2 separate regions of the Homo sapiens genome follow, and region 2 is linked to region 1. Evidence: promoter capture Hi-C in 16 types of primary human blood cells and fetal thymus (Javierre and others, 2016). All regions are on one chromosome and are shown on one strand. Each heading gives the region's core, a stretch centred on a gene start or on the middle of the fragment in contact. The rest is flanking DNA. Distances are from core to core; before and after follow the strand shown.

Region 1 (4,490 bases), core at 925-3,424:
AGGAAATCAGCTGTGCTCTGAAAGAAGCACCATTCCAGTAAAGGGGAGGAAAAGGTCATCAGACTGCAAGGGCTCAACAAAAGTACAAGGTAAGGAGGCAGAGGGTGTGGGCTGATTATCAACTAAGAGGTTTGCACGGAAAAAGGGAAAAAAAAAAAAACAGAAAAACAGGGCCGGGTAGTGGCAGAAAGAGAGGGTGGATCTGTGACTGTTCGCAGGAAGAGAGGAGCGGGAGCAGGACAGACAATAACTGATAGTCAGGAGCTGGGTTTGGAGATAAAGAGGGAACAAGAGAAAGTTAAGTTCTGTGTTTTCATGGCAAACATTGCACAAAAGTTTACAACTTCGTGACTAACAGTAATCTGGGGTGATTCACAACAAATTTACACATAAACACATATTTACTGACTTTATACACAGCAATCCTAACGTGAACACAGAACCTGCTTTATCTTTTCGCACACTGTTCTAGTGTAGAGATGTCTGGTCTCAGTTAAAGAAAGCATAAGGAGCATTAGTTGTGCACACTGTCCACACCTGTGACTTTTTTCCACCAGTACTAAACCTAGTGCTTCTTACAGTACAGGACAATGACAGCCACAGAAAGAGAGAAGCTCCTTTTACTGTGTAATGCTTCCTGCTGGCCTTCAAATACTTGTTACTTGAGAGATCTCCATTCACCTGGCTTTGTCCCCAAAGGTCATCATCTACCAATGATGTTGTTATTTGATGTTAATCATGTATAAAGAAAGTAGCTACCATCCTGGCCCTGATTAGAACTTCCCACTGAAATACCGTCCTGCCTAAAGGTAGCACAGGCTCCCATTATGGTGGTGGTGGGGAGGGGGCGGGAATATATATATATATATATATATATATATATATATATATATGGTAAAGCATTCGGCATTCTTTTAAAGTACAACTATCCTTGAAAAGGGTTACATATTAAACCATTTTTACCACAGCCAAAGGGGAGGAGAAAGATCCAAAAGTCCTGTGGATCTGCTTTAACATCAATAAAACAGTTATCCACCCTTCGTAGCTTTTAGTGAAGGCTACAAAAGTATGCTTTTTATGGATTACACATGTGCACGCAACTACTTTAATTACTACAGAAAAAAACGAGGCTCCTTATTAAAAAAAAATCAGAAACAAGTCCAACAGACTCTGAGGAAATGAAGCAAGAGTGAATTCTGAAAAGGTCTAATAAACAGTATGGAAATATCCTTGTGGGATTGTTCTTCAGCTATGCATAAACATGTAATTATCATCATTACTGTGATGGGGAAAAACACGGACCCTAATTCTGAAACACCCTGGTAGCGAGAGACGGGCAGGAGGGGCTGCTGCGCACTCAGAGCGGAGGCTGAGGAGGCGGCGTCCCCTTGCAAAGGACTGGCAGTGAGCAGATGGGGACACTCGAGCTGCCCCGCGACCTGGGCCGAGCTGCCTACAACCTGGGCCCAGGTGCCTGCAAGAATTAGACCTCCGATAACGTTAACACCCACTTTCTCACTGCTCTAATTGTGTGCATCCCGGCGCCCAGGGGCTTGTGAGCAGCAGGTGCGCGTTCCAGGCAGCTCCAGCGACCCTTAAACCTGACCGCGCGCACGTCCGGCCCGAGGGAGCAGAACAAGAGGCACCCGGACCCTCCTCCGGCCAGCACCCACCTTCACCCAGTTCCGTCAGTCGCCACCACCTCCCTTCCCGCGTCCGCAGCCGGCCCAGCTGGGGAGCATGCGCAGTGGCCGGAGCCGGGTTGCCCGCGCCCCAGCAGGTAGCTGTACTGCAACTGTCGGCCCAAACCAACCAATCAAGAGACGTGTTATTGCCGCCGAGGTGGAACTATGGCAACGGGCGACCAATCAGAAGGCGCGTTGTTGCCGCGGAGCCCCCTGCCCCGGCAGGGGGATGTGGCGATGGGTGAGGGTCATGGGGTGTGAGCATCCCTGAGCCATCGATCCGGGAGGGCCGCGGGTTCCCTTGCTTTGCCGCCGGGAGCGGCGCACGCAGCCCCGCACTCGCCTACCCGGCCCCGGGCGGCGGCGCGGCCCATGCGGCTGGGGGCGGAGGCTGGGAGCGGGTGGCGGGCGCGGCGGCCCGGGCCCGGGCGGTGATTGGCCGCCTGCTGGCCGCGACTGAGGCCCGGGAGGCGGGCGGGGAGCGCAGGCGGAGCTCGCTGCCGCCGAGCTGAGAAGATGCTGCTGTCCCTGGTGCTCCACACGTACTCCATGCGCTACCTGCTGCCCAGCGTCGTGCTCCTGGGCACGGCGCCCACCTACGTGTTGGCCTGGGGGGTCTGGCGGCTGCTCTCCGCCTTCCTGCCCGCCCGCTTCTACCAAGCGCTGGACGACCGGCTCTACTGCGTCTACCAGAGCATGGTGCTCTTCTTCTTCGAGAATTACACCGGGGTCCAGGTGAGCCGCCTCCCGCTCCCGGGTCTCGGCGTCCACCCGAGCTCCCGGGGGCGCGGACCTCTCCGCTCCCCCACAGCTGGCGAGGGTCACCCGGCCGGCCCGGCGGACCCAGCACGGAGAGCACGTGCCGCCTCCCCGCCTTCCTCTCCGCATGCTTCCTGCCGTTCTGCCGAGATCGCTCTCTAGGAAGCTGTGGCTGCGTCGTCCTGAGGCTACGAGTGGGACCCGCCGCCCCTTTCCCCGCCCCTCGCCTGGGTCTGATGCTGCTTAGCAAAGTGGGTGCAGATGCACGTTTTAAATAATAGGGCACGCGTTTAGCAGTTTCTGGCCTTTGGTCCAAAGAGGTGGTCATGTTGGAACAGATCGGAGACGTCTACACTCCGAAGTGCGCTTTTACAGTGACCTCTTGAAACAGAAGTACAATTCGGTCTTGTGTTCTTTCCCCTGGACAAGTGAAAGCTGGGCGAAGAAATGAATACATTTGTTAACCGTAGAAGCCTAACTAGATACATTTCTTGCCAACTTTAACTGGGCTTGAATGTGTGGGTGATCTGTTGTCTGATTACTTTCTTTCTGTTACTGTTTCTCTGTAGAGATTGGATTCGTAGATTAAACTTGAGAAACAAACCATAAAAGTGGAAGGCCCTCTTTAACAGTAGGTATTTGAAGTGTTATAAAAAAAAAAAAAAGGTGAATTTTTCTTTTATTTCTCAGTTTGAAAGAACAGCTTTATTCTTGGTTATTCCTAATGTCCACCTAGTCCTCTTTTACTTTTCTTGGTAGGGTTAGGGTGGCATGGGGAAATGGGACGGTATCATTTTGTCTTTTTAACTTTTTTTTTTTCCACCTACAGCAGCTGTTTTTACCCTGTGGTCAGTCAGGTACTATATTTAGTTTGCAGTTGCACTGCTGATCGACCCTTGATGGCCCCAGTTGGAAGTTGTTTGGGGGGAAGGAACTAGGAGAGGCCAGGGCCTCCATTTAAACCAGTGTCTGTAAGTGTCTCCTTGGAAAGAAAAAAAGATACTGTTCCAGGTCATGGTTTCCTGGTAGTTGACGTTTAAAATGGGCCTCATTTAAAAATTTCAATAATTCAGGCTAATTTTTTCCCTTTATATGGTAACTCCACCAAGTTTGTCTAAATGTATGATTTTTATCATGATTAAGTTTTTACTTCCACATCATGTGACAACTGGCCTGGGATGGGATATAAGCTCAGAACACAAAGTCATTCACCTCTTAAAAAAATAATTCTATCTGTGGCGGGTTATGTTATTTTTGTTCAAAGAGGACACAATATGATGCAGAATACACCATTGAAGGATTTTTTGGTTTGGCAAGTTCTTATTTTTTTAAATGGCTGTAAAACCTAGCAGTGTTTCTGAAATTGCATACCTTACCTGATGTTCAGAGATCCGATTTACTTCTTGATTTCCCAGCAAGTGATTTTGAAAACATTTAATCTAATCATTCCCCCCACCGTCTGTTCAAATCAAAGGAAGTGGCATCCAGCACTAATTTTCATGCATTTATGAAAGGATGCCTGAGGACCCTTAAGTATAATTCAAAATTTTGTTTAATGTGTGTTCCTTGATGAAGTTCTTTAGGAGTCGTAGAACGAACTGATTGCCCACTGATCATCAAATGCAAGTTATGAACATTTAATAAAAATTTAAAACCAAGAGTTTCTTGTTCCTGCATTTTTATTTTTATTGTATGGAGGGGACAAATAATTATTTTCTGTTTAGTAACAGAGCAGGGTATTTTGAATTTATTAGGGTCTTTTTCTGCAATCTGGGTTTCCTGTGTACACAAAGCTACCTTTCAATATTTTTTATTGTTTCTGTTAAGATTAAATCAATAGAGGAATAAATAGCTATCTTCAAACATAAGACCCAAAGGAAAAAGATTTATAGTGATGTTCTGTCACCTTATTTTTTACCTGTGACTTTGTACCATTAACTTTGTCACTGAGATGTTTTGATTAAAATTTTTAGCTTGCTTTTCTTGTTTTGTTAGGACACTCTTTTTTTCTTGAATTGTTTTTATCAGCTTTCGTTTGCAAGGCTA
Region 2 (4,490 bases), core at 630-3,129, about 32 Mb after region 1:
TTAACTCACTGACTTTTCCTAACAGAGGCATTGAGAAGTTAAGTAACTTGCCCAGGGGTCAAAGCCAGTAAACGGCAGAGCTGGGCTTCAAATCCAGGTTCCTTGCTTCCAGAGGAGATGCTCTTCAGTTTGTTCTGGTGCCTGAAACTTACAGATGAGTGGCAAAACCCTCCATGAACGGGGAAAAAAAAGACATTGATGTATTTATTTCAAGGGAAATGTGTGTGTGTGTGTGTGTGTGTGTGTGTGTGTGTGTGTGTGTGTGTGTTTTGCCCATCGTCCCCCTTTTCTTCCTCATTGAAAGCAAAATGCTCTAAAGCAAACAGTCTTTTTTCACACCTGAGACACCGGCGGTGTTCATTTTTGCTTTGGCAATCAAAATGGAAGAGGAAACTTGTGTGGTTTCATCACTGGTGCTTTCGGGGTGTGTGGGGCGGGCTGTCCTTCTCCCTCGGTCCTGGCTCATCGGCCCGAGCCCCCCTCCCCAGGCCTTGTGGCCTCCGGTCGGTCGTGGAGACATAAGAGGCCGCCTTTCCTCTGTTAACACCGGGAATGTGCCCCAGCCTCTCCCTCCTTCCTGCAAATCCAGTCCTTGTCCTGGAGAACCTCAGCGTCTTCTTATGCCTGCCTCTTTCAAAGCCTCGTAGGATTTACACCTGATTAACAACGTTTGCATTAGGATCGCCAGACACCGGCGCACGGCCCCGCAGGCCCGCGCGAATCTTCTACATTTTCATGTTTCGGATGTTGTCCACCTGACTTGATGCATATTCAAATGTCTCTCTCCCGACGTGGGAGGCCGGAGTCAGAACCTGACAGACCTGCCGTTTACTAACTGGGTACCCAGGGCAAATTACTTCACAAGTCTGAGTCTCGGTTTCCTCACCGTGAACCGGACTGGTACCCATAGGTTGCGGCGTGGATCAAATGAGATAGCGCAGGGGCGGGACCCGCGCACAGCAGCTCTCTTAGTTCCTCTTGGCGAGGTTTACGTAGTAACACATGCTTGTCTGTTTCCCATTTTTTCCCAGAGCACCCTCATGCTCTGGGGGCAGGAAGGGAGTCTTCGCATCACACCGAAAAAGTCCCAACGGGCACGGTGTAGGCGCCTGTGGTCCCAGCTACTCGGGAGGCTGGGGCAGAAGGATCGCTGGACCCAGGAGGTCGAGGCTGCAGTGAGCTATGACTGCGCCACCGCACTCCAGCCTGGGCGACAGAGCCAGACCCTGTCTTGATTAAAAAATAAAATAAAATAAAGAAATTAAAGTCCTTATAACCCTGGTTAGAGCGTTCCCGCCCACTGGTCTCTTAGGGCACATTTAGGACAACCTGAAGAAGCCACTCTTCTTGGGACCCTAACCCTTACCCCAACTCCTCGGTCCCCAAAGGCTAAGGGCTCGGGATCCGAAGGAGGCCCAGCTGAGGTCGCTGGGTGGGGCTCTGGGAGGAGGAAATGGGGTTCTTGAGGGAGCTCGCGCTCCAGCTCGCCTCCTCCTGCGAGGACGCCCCCTGCCCGGACACCTGCTGCCCGAGCGAGCGTCGGGGCCGGGCCTCCCCGCGGGGCAGTCTCGGCGCGCAGGTCCCACCTGCCAGGCGCGGAACGCGGGCGGCCTCGGGCGCAGCCTCCGGGCGCCCCGCCCCCGCCTCCCCCGCGCGGCCCCGGCGCCCGGCCGCACCCCCTCCCAGCCCGCGGCGCCCCGGCACCCCTCTCCCTCCCCGGCGGGCTCCGCGGAGCATTGTACTCACATCCGGGGCTGGGTTTTGCTTTAATGCGAAACGTAATTAACCCGGAAAAAAGAGCCGAGGGACGGGAGAGAAGGAGGGGGCACTGGGGGAGACCAGAGCGAGGGGAGCGAGAGGCGCGGAGAGTTTGGCAGGCAGACCCAGAAATCCCTGGAGCGCGGCGGACCCGGCGGCCGGAGGGGCGACCCCGCCCGATGTAACGCGCCCCGCCCGAGCCCCGGCCCCTGCACGGGGGGGTAAGTTGGGCGCCCTCGCGGGCTCGGGAGTGGAGAGGCGCAGAGGGGCGCGCGGGGGCTGGCGGGGCTGGGGGTGCAGGGGGCGCCCCGGCGGAGGCCTGGCGGCCTAGGGGCGCGAGGGGCGCGCGCGCAGGGCTGAATACGCCGGTCCTAGTGGCTGACAGGCGAGGGGAGGTGGCCGCAGACCCTGGAGGCCTCCTCCAACCCTCTGGGAGAGCCCCGAGGGCAGCCCCTCCTCCAAGTGCCCCGGGTGGCCAAGGTCGCCGCCGCCAGGGGTCGGGCTGCGGGGGGTGGGGCCGCGGAGAGGGTGGGGGCGGGAGTTCTGCTGAGCTGCATTTTCTCACGTTTGCAGCAGCGAAACTTCTCTGCGGGTTCTGGCGCTGGGGCACCGACCCCGCAACGACTGCCCGGGCTGCGGGAGGGGAGGAGAGCAGAGAACGTCCCCAGGCAAGTCCCTTGGGTACGGATTGGGCCATGGAGACTCCTCTTTCACTCCCCCGACTACCTTATTAAATGACAGGCCTAGAAGGCTCCCCTAGGGACTCCTGTCCTTTCCTCTGGGTGCAGCCTGGACTTCGGGCTTCTGGAACTCCAGACAGTGAAAAGGACTGCCCTAAAATGCAGGTTCGGTGCCAGGTTGGGTGAGCCCTCGAGGGGAGCTGTCGTTCTCTCTCTCACCAACTTCTTCCTCACCTTACACGCTTCCCTTTTCTCCTCCAGTCCTAAAGACGATTTCACCAAAATTTTTTTAAAAAGAAAGAGAAAAGAAGGGTGTGGGGGGGGGTGGTGGGAAGCTAGGCCGTTTAGAAGGGAAAAGTGTCCCTGCACGCCCAGAGAGGGGCGCAGGGCCCGCTGCGGCCGGAGCACCCTCACATCTCCTCCCCGGGGCCAGCCCTGCCCCCAGGCCCTAGCCTTAGGGTTTGGCTTCCTTCCTTCTTGGTGAACGCAGGTTCAGGATGTATCTTCCCCTTCTCATTCCTTCTTCCTGCCCGCCCCCTTTCTTTCTTTAGGGCTCCAAGTGGGGTTTTCAGAGGACAGTAAACGGCAGAGAAGAGGGAGGGGAGAGCACCCCACCAGAAAGCCAGCTGTGGCTCTGGGGGCTCTGAAGGCTGAGCTGTAGATGCACTTGGGGCTGAAGTCCCAAGATTGCACTAATGGTGTTCTTAATCTATCTGACCAAGTCCCATTTTCCCTTCTTTTGTCATTTTTTTTCTTTGGTTGCGAAGCCTTCCGAAACAGCAAAGCAAAAGATCTTGAAAGAATAGAAGTTTTTGCTTTCTATTTCAGTTGCATTCAGTTGACATGTATTATACATGCAAGGCAGTGATGAACAAAACACAACCCCTGTCTTTATTTTTTCTTTTTCCTTTACCTCTGGAGGGCTGGACCCTGTCTTTGGCGAGCTTACAGGACTTGTAAGCCCCCCACTTGTTTTGAGAAGCCAGAGTAAGCTTTTAGAAAGCATCATCATCATCTCAGACATTAGCCCTCTTCACCATGTGCCGCCTGAAGGCAGATGACTTTTGCACTATCAGAGGTCTAGCTTGTAGTCTAGATTATGGCCAGCCCAACGTATGACATGTACCAGGTGCTAAGTAAATGTTTATTGCATTAATGAATGAATGCAAACACATGAATTGTTTGCACTTGTCCAAATGGCAGAGAAAAGAGCAGTGTGGTTGTTCCTCAAACCTGTAGGGATTTGGTTCTCCAAGCTGGTACATGGGAGTTATTAGTCCGGATGTTGCCTTTACACCTAAGTATCCTTTGACCCTGTTTGTACATTACAGCATGCTTTCTACAAATTGTCTATGGCACTCCTAGTGGGGTTTTAGCTAGCTGGTAATGGGAGCCTTGCTCATTTCACAGATTGGTAATTACCTTGGTATTGATTGAGAAACTGCCTGCCCTTTGGTGAAGAGTTTTTGCAACCCTTTCTTTTTCCTTGTCATTGGTGCTTTCTTCTCTCTTCTGTGTTAAGGAAATAGGGCCTGCAGATCCCATCATGTCATGGTAGTGAGCTGAACCATATTCAGCTCGGTATTTTTGAGTGGTTAAAATAAATCTTGAAGACATGCAGGTTTTGGTTGGTGCAGGTTTTTGTTCTGCAGAAGTGGGAAGGGGAAGGCTGATGAGCCCTATCAGCTGAGCCCCAGAGCAGCCCTCCCACTACCTTGCCAAGTGTTTGCCGAAGTGCTAGGATACTAGGAAGACCCAAGCAGCGTTGGTCTCCTGTCCAATTCATGGGACAGATGGACAGGTGGGTGATGCCCCTGCTGAAAGGCTGGATGACTCAGATGAGAGCTTGCTGCAGACCACAGTGCATCAGAATATCTCTTCTGATTCACGGAAACTGCTGTGGCTCGACTTATTCCGGTTGTGATAGACCTAGGGCTTGGAAAAGAGGATCTGGGTGCTGGGACGTTGGGTTGCTCTGCCCCCTCTCTTTTTCCACCATGAACAGTTTGGGTTGCCTTACTTTCCGTTTTCCATCTGTCTCAGTGAGCTGGA

The links. Contacts are between HindIII fragments. The CHiCAGO score rates a contact against its expected background, and 5 or more counts as called.
Region 2: the fragment with the promoter of PLEKHA2 here is called in contact with the fragment with the promoter of AGPAT5 in region 1 in 1 of 17 cell types (non-activated CD4 T cells); the score reaches 5.5 in non-activated CD4 T cells.

The regions. Positions count from the first base shown.
Region 1 is chr8:6,706,468-6,710,957 of GRCh38, forward strand. AGPAT5 (1-acylglycerol-3-phosphate O-acyltransferase 5) reads left to right here and starts at 2,175. Exons shown (of 8, transcript NM_018361.5): 1 at 2,175-2,420. The coding sequence starts at 2,202. It overlaps MCPH1-AS1 (MCPH1 antisense RNA 1), which reads right to left and starts at 1,742. Exons shown (of 5, transcript NR_125386.1): 1 at 1,674-1,742. RefSeq lists silencers at 1,929-2,268, 2,329-2,568. The HindIII fragment of the contact is 5,238 bases long and covers 1-4,490 here.
Region 2 is chr8:38,899,467-38,903,956 of GRCh38, forward strand. It overlaps PLEKHA2 (pleckstrin homology domain containing A2), which reads left to right and starts at 1,880. Exons shown (of 12, transcript NM_021623.2): 1 at 1,880-1,979. It overlaps LOC124901937 (a long non-coding RNA gene), which reads right to left and starts at 1,979. Exons shown (of 2, transcript XR_007060893.1): 1 at 1,747-1,979; 2 at 1-1,230. RefSeq lists enhancers at 292-481, 542-791 and silencers at 1,392-1,801, 1,882-2,551. The HindIII fragment of the contact is 6,068 bases long and covers 1-3,428 here.